Linked DNA regions of Homo sapiens: region 2 is linked to region 1. The links are contacts of gene promoters, found by promoter capture Hi-C in human tissues and cell types (Jung and others, 2019). All regions are on one chromosome and are shown on one strand. Each heading gives the region's core, a stretch centred on a gene start or on the middle of the fragment in contact. The rest is flanking DNA. Distances are from core to core; before and after follow the strand shown. Region 1 holds the start of VSTM2B (V-set and transmembrane domain containing 2B). Region 2 has its middle 100 kb from the start of LINC00906.

What was found. The method cuts DNA at HindIII sites, captures the fragments that hold promoters and counts their contacts. A contact is called where the count stands out against the background at its distance.
Region 2: a contact is called between a fragment that was not itself captured here and the fragment with the promoter of VSTM2B in region 1, in 1 of the 25 tissues and cell types used here (dorsolateral prefrontal cortex).

Annotation. Positions count from the first base shown.
Region 1 is chr19:29,524,499-29,527,878 of GRCh38, reverse strand. VSTM2B (V-set and transmembrane domain containing 2B) reads right to left here and starts at 1,885. Exons shown (of 5, transcript NM_001146339.2): 1 at 1,214-1,885; 2 at 484-668. The coding sequence starts at 1,295. VSTM2B-DT (VSTM2B divergent transcript) reads left to right here and starts at 2,129. Exons shown (of 10, transcript NR_040029.2): 1 at 2,129-2,455. All of the region lies in intron 1 of LOC124904683 (a long non-coding RNA gene), which reads left to right. The HindIII fragment of the contact is 17,468 bases long and covers 1-3,380 here.
Region 2 is chr19:28,863,487-28,866,866 of GRCh38, reverse strand. No RefSeq gene overlaps it. Among named protein-coding and RNA genes, the nearest start is that of LINC00906, 100 kb to the left of the region's middle. The HindIII fragment of the contact is 9,131 bases long and covers 1-3,380 here.

The DNA.
Region 1 (3,380 bases), core at 636-3,135:
TCGGCCACAGAGAAGTGGCCCCTCTGTGCCCCTGAGGGCTGGAGGTCCTGCCGGCTTTCCGGTACTCGGTTTTCTGGTGGCCTCTGGAACGCAGCCGTGGGAGCCCTGGGGTCCTCAAAGTGGCAGAGGGCGGGGAGAGCCTGATGGGACCAAGGGGGCTTCCTTCACTACCCAGCACCCATCAGAGGGCCGCAGCCAGCGAGCACGAGCAAGCGACCAGGCTGAGGTGTGGCTCTTTAGGGGCTGGGCGTGAATGGAGTTCTGGGAGGTGGTGGGAACAGCGATGCTGTCAAAATAATTGACAGGTTTGGGGGTAACCACTGCTGACTTTGAAGATGCTTTGGGATGCGAAGGTGGAAGATGGGCTGCGCCACAGGGCGGCGCCCTGCGCGAGTGAAGCCCGCTGCTTCCCTCCCTGGGTTAGCCTTCGCCGCCCCGGGCGCGAGCCGGGCGCGCGCCGGTACCGCGTGGGCGGCGGGTTACCTTGCTCCGGGCGCCCGGCACGCTGAGCGCCAGCTCGTGCAGCAGCTCCCGGGGTGGCTCCTTGAGGTACCACCACTGAATCTCCAGCGAATACGAGGTGGCTCCGCTGGCCCGGAACGCGCAGGGCATTTCGATGTCGTCTCCCTCCCGTACTGTCACATCTTTGGGGACTTCTGTGAATGCAGCTGGGGGTGGGGAGAGAGAGAGAGGCGTGACCAGCTGTAGGTCGGGGGCCTGGGGCAACCTAAAGCGAGGCAGTCGGTCTCTGGCTGGCTGGCCTTGTGCCCCCCACCCCGCAGCTGCTCCCTGGCGCACGGCCGGAGGGGCTAGCAAAGTTCGGGGAAGCGGCTGCAGGGCCGAGGCAGGGACCGGCCATCGGCTGCCTACTGCTTCCCTCCGGATGGGGCGGGGCGGCAGGGGCGACTCGTGCTTCTCCCCCGCCCCTGGCCGCACCGCCAGAGCCTGGCTGGGGCGCGCCTACTCCCGCTCCCCGCAGGCATCCTTTCCGCAGCCGGGGCCCCGGCGGGACTGGGAACGACTCGGGCGCGGCGCTGCTGCTGCGGCGACCCTTCGCCGCTCGCCTCTCCCTACCCCTCCGGGCCCAGGCTGCACAGCGGGATTGCTGGAGACCGCGAAGCTTCCCGGTTCGTTCTCTTTCTTCTTCTTCTCGGTGGCGGCCCCAGCAAAGACCCCCCCGAGTCCACAGCGGCAGCAAAGTTCCCGCGCTCACCGTCGGCCACGAAGAGCAGCAGGGCATGCAGCAGCAGAGGCGGCAGGTATCCGAGGGCACCGAGCCGGTTCCGCTGTTCCATCTCCCGCGGGGGGCGCGGTGGCGGCGGGGGCCCGGGAGCGGAGAGGCGGCGGCCGCGTGGGCTCGGATCGGCTCCGGCTCGGGCTAGGACGCCTCCGAGCCTGCCATGGCCCCGCGCGGCGCCCCCTCCCCTGGCCGCCGGCGGCCGCCAATCAGCCCCGCTCCCTCGCCGGCTTGCCCGGTGCGGCTCCGGCGGGGGGCGCTGCGCGGGGTGTGCAGGAGACGCGGTCCCACCGGGAGGCTGCTGGCGATCGGTCAGTGCCTCTCTCTGTCCGGTCGTCCACAGGACGGTGGGGATCCGCGGTTCAGTCTCTGCCCGGCGGGCCGGGCAGGGGCTGGGCCGCGCCGGGACCCATCCCTGGCCGAGGGAGTGCGTGCCACGGAGCCGCGAGCTTCTGCCTCCCTGTCTCCTTCTGGTTCTGCTCCCGATTGCCACCTCCTTCGGCTCCCGCAGCCGCCCCCGCCGGTTCCTCCGCGGCTCTTTCCGCAGGGCGAGTGGGCGCTCAGCCGCGGCGCGCAGACCTGGCGTCCGACCCAGCGCAGCGCGGGGAGAGCGGGTCCGGCGTGGCGGACCCGGAGCCGGAGAGAGGCGGGGAGAGGGGGAGGGGAGGGGAAGGGAGGGGGCGGTCAGTGGCTGGGCGCCAAGCCGCCTCCACCGCTGCATCGCCCCCGCCCTCCCCTCTCCTGCCACAGCCCGCCCCGCCCCCGCCCCAGAGCGCTCCCCCTCTCTCCTCGGGGGTCGCTCGGAGGGACCACCGTCTTTCTGGTTGGAGTACAGCCCCGCCCCGCACCCGCTTGGGTTGGGAGTCCTCCCACCCAAACTCTCCCTGGCTTCTTCCCAGTCTGCACGGCTCGAGACGGCCGCTCATCCCTGCTCCCCGTGTGTCCCTCGGTCCTCTCTGCAGCTCCCAGCCCTCAACTCCTTACCCCAGTTTGGGCAACCAGCTGCCCCGCTGTTTGGCCCAGGCCTGGGCCATGACGGATGGGTGGGCGCCCGGGGCCGCGAGAAGGGCGGAACGCTGTGCCCAGCCGGAGACTACGCTGGGTGGCGGCGGCAGCGCCGGGAGTCTGCAGTGCGCGAGGGAGAAGTGAGCGCACAGCGCCCAGCGAGCAGGTGCCTGCGGCGCGGAGAGCGCACACGCTAGCCAGCCCGCAGCGGCCGTGAGTGACGGCAGGGGCGGCGGGGGTGGGGTGGGGTGGGGAGCGCCGGGCACGACTCAGGGCCCGGGAGGTTTCCGGGAGGGGGCGGGGTTCCTGCCCCTGGATCGCGGGTCCCTGTGTCTCCACGCGCTCTTCGCCGGTCGTGGCCCCTTCTTTGCCCGGTGCAAAGCGAGATGCCGAGGCGGCAGGAAGCCGGAACCCATCCCCCGCCTGCTCTGGCGTACTCGGCATCCCGGTACCTCCCCCAGCCTTCACCCGGAGTCTGCTCCCTCCCCAGCCATCTGAGGGAGCGCGGTCTGGTCCCCGAAGGCAAATGCGGGGTGGACATGTGGTTCGGACGCAGCGCGTAGTCATAGTCATAGGGGCGAGTCCTAAGGCTCGCCTTGGGTCTCTCCTATCTCCTTCCCCCGGGAGTCCCCAGCTAGTGCGTTTCGGCACCTCTGCCCCTACCCCGGCCCCTACGCCTCAGCTCTGACCTCAGGTTGGGGTGGGGCAGCCCGGTGGATTCACGTGCCTGCTTCCCCGGCTACCAGCCTCCCGGAGGCACCGCCAGAGGATTCCCTGGGAGCCAAGGAGAAGGAAACCCAGAGGGAAAACACTCTCCAGCAGCCACCCTGGTCCAGGCGGCCAGCGCAGCACAGCTCAGAGGGGAGGAGCTGCAGGCCCTCTCCAAGGCTGTCCTCGCCAGCGGGTGCCCGGGGCCAGCCCTTCTTGCCTCCAGTGCCTGCCTTTCAGTTTCCTCGTCTATGGCCCAGGAGTCACTCCCACCCCCTGGCTCACTGTGGCTCATCTATCAAGCCCTTGTTTTCTAAGGTCTCCTGCTGGGGGCAAAGGGAAGAAGGGGGTCCTATAGGACTTTCCTCCTTTCCCTCAAGTTCCTCTCTAGGGGCTCCACAGAGGCAGTTGCCAGCTCCTTCTGTCATGG
Region 2 (3,380 bases), core at 436-2,935, 660 kb after region 1:
GGGATTCAGCTCCACCCGCCCATGGTGGTGGCTGGCTCCATAGCTGCACCTGACTGGTGGTTTTCCCTTTTCTTCCTAATTTCATCTAAATAAACTACTTGCCCTCAAATCTTCATCTCCAGATCTGCTTCTGGGGAACCTCCACTCAGATCCTCTTACGTATACAAGAGGATGGAGGCTCCTAAACCTGTCTCTTGGTGTGCTCTGATGATAGCTGTTCCAACCACGAGAAAGTCAGAGTTAACTTAACAGATGTTTATTGAGCACCTAGCATCCGTCAGTCACTTTATCAAATGCAGAAAGAGCCAGACGGGAAAGCGTGACACAAGGTTAGTCCTCTCAGGAGACATTCTAGCTGAGACTGTGTGGCTTAAGCACCTCAAAGGTAAAAAAAACTGCCTAACGAAGAAAATATGGCAAGGGCATTTGTCAAGGAAAAATCAAAGTTCTCTTTTCCTCTACTCTCACACTCAATGCAGACCACTTCGGTGGCCAGATGCATGGGTGTCCTCCCACACACCGAGCAATTCTCCAGCAGACACCAACTGGGTGTCCTGTATTTTAATTCTATGCTGACTCCTTCTACCTGGAGTTAGACTCAGATCCCACAGTCTAAGGGCTCAGTCTCAGAAGGCTGCCCCCACTTCAGATACCAATTACAAGTAGTAAGTTGCCATCTATGCGTCTGACCCATCAGCTGTAAGTTGGGATTCCCACCACTCCCTTGGGTTTGCTTAATTTGCTAGGATGGCTCACAGAACTCACGGAAGCATGTTTACCATTTTATTATAAAGGATGTCATCATGGACACAGATGGACAGCCAGAGGAGGAGAGTCACAAGGTAAGGTTTGGGGTGGAGCCTCCATGCCCTTTCTGGGTGTGCCCCCCTCTCAGCACCTCCAAGGGTTCAGCAACCCAGAAGTTCATCAAATCTTGTTGCTGAAGAGTTTTTACAGAGCCTAGTTTCCAGCCTGCCCCCTACTCCTTCCCAGAGGTCTTCAAGGGGCTGAGAGTTCAACTCATTTGGCCTATCTGGGGACCAGCCCCATCCTGAGAAGATCTAGGGGCCCTAGAAGTCCTTCATTAGCATAAATTCAGGTGTCATGGAAAGGGGCTGATTATGAAAAAGAAAAGATGCACCTATCACTCAGAAATTTTCAAGGGTCTTAGGAGCTCTAAGACAAGAACTGGAAAAAGATCACAAGTAGATTTCTTGTTACACCACAGCATTCACAATGTTAGTGTCCACTCACTTATACCACAGCATTCATTACATTAGTGTTCACTCACCACAGCATTCATCACATTTGTGTTCACTCACTTATTACCTATTAATGTGTAGATTTAACGAGCATTGGACTAGGCCACAGAGGCTCAGAAATAAATGACAAGGCGTGGGTCTTGCTGGGGTTCCTGAGGATGTGAGAAGCAGATGCACAGCCCTGGCATGGGAGTTGGGGTCTTGGGGAAGGCAAGTCCAAGCAGAGCCTGCGGGAACCCCGAGGGGCAACATGGATTTCTGGGGACAGGGAGCAGTAGGTTAATGTTTTTCCCTCTGTGATGTTTGTTTGCTTCATGAATTAGGACTAATCTTTATAAAACCTCTGCAAAGGCTTCCGTGGTCCTGTGAAAATCACCCACCATGGTTATGAAGCTTCCAGGAAAACTCACATGCACACAAACTCAATTTTAAACTATTAAAATGAGAATTAATGAGATAATATGTGTGAAATGCAAAGTGGTCTAGGTTGTATAAATTCAGGGAATAATTATGACTGTCATTCCTAATGCATCCATTCGTATGTTTGTAATTGCTCAATTCTTCAACGTTCTTCAGAGTTTTAATTTTTTTTTGTTTTTTTTTTTTACGTCCTGCACGCTCCTCTTCTCATCCCAGTATGAAACCAGCAGACTCATTTTACAACCTTGTTTTGGCAGAGGAGGCCCAAGAGCCTGGCCTCTTTCCCAAGCCGCCACAAAGATATCAGCTTTGGAAATGTGCCCAAAGCTCGTAGCTGGAATGACCTGCACGGAGTCCTAGGAAATAAGCAGGCTTGGACCCAACCCAGCCAGAAGGTCATTCCCCACCCGCTGGTCTCCCCGCCGTGCTTTGGAGCCACAGTCACCTCCAGAGTGTCTTGGTTGCTACCACTATTCTGACCCCAGTTTTTTGTTTTTGTTTTAAAGCCCTTAAGGAGGCACAGCTCTCCCCAGAAGGGCTAATTCCTTGTCTCACAGCAAGACAATTTGTATGAATTTTCACTAAATCTCACCATGGCCTTGACTCCCCACCAGGAAGGGCAACTTTATTTCCCAGTTTCCAGGCTCTGGAAGGCTGTGGATGCCACCAGTATCTCTTTTGTTTTTAAACACCATGTGAGGGTGGTGGGGATTTACAGGGACCACATCTCAAGTACTTGAAACTTGTAAAGGTTCTTTTTATAAATGATTCTTTATCTGGTGACTGTTTGCATTGTGGTTTCTAAATTTGGAGTCCCTTGCATTGTTGCTCACTGCATTTTTAATTGACAGATTTTTGTTGGCCGTCTATTGTGCCCTCAGCTCTCGTTACTCATGCACAGATGTAGAGAGTAGGTGTTTGCTTTGAGGAGTTTAGACTCTTGCAGGGGAGAGCCTGTGTGACGCACCTGTCTGTCTCTCCCTCATAGCAGTGAATCATGTGCTGCCTTGATTTAAGTGCCTGTCTCGTCTGTGAGCTGCCCAGGGACGAGGGCCGTACCATTCTGTTTCTGCGCCTAGCCCACTGCCTGACGCAGAGCTCACACTCCAGAGATATGGGCCAAATGGATGGGGAAAGGTGTCTGTGGTGTTATGTGGGCACTTTCTCTGGGGCACAGCACCACGTACTGGGTGTGCAGTTTGGGGTGGAGTGCAGCCCGGCAGCTGGGAATTGGCAGCACTGATCACAGCCATTCCCCCAAGCCCCCCACCTGTATTCCCTGTTGCCTCAACCTGTTAGGTAAGCAGTGGTGCCATGGCTTTTCCCAGAATGCTCTGAGGGAGGAAACACATCCCTGTATAATTCTCTCCTTTCGAAATTAGCTGTTTTCAAGGCAGCATTGTTTGTCAACTGCAAGAAATCGGGCAGGAGGGCTTATCACTCAGAGCTATTTTTCAGGCTGAAGGACACAGCCAAACAGCATCCCCAGAGCCGGCAGCGCACTGTGAAAGGAGCCATGGCTGCCATCAACTCCAGGCACTCACAGTGCCTGATGACGGTCTGGCCTGGTTCATGAGGCAGGAGGCTCAGGGCTTCCCAGGGGGTTGGGAATGCCCTTTGCAGGTTCCCATTGTGCGCCATGCACCATGCCAAGTACCCTCCACCTGCATCATCCACCACTTTCAGGGCCTGCTGAGG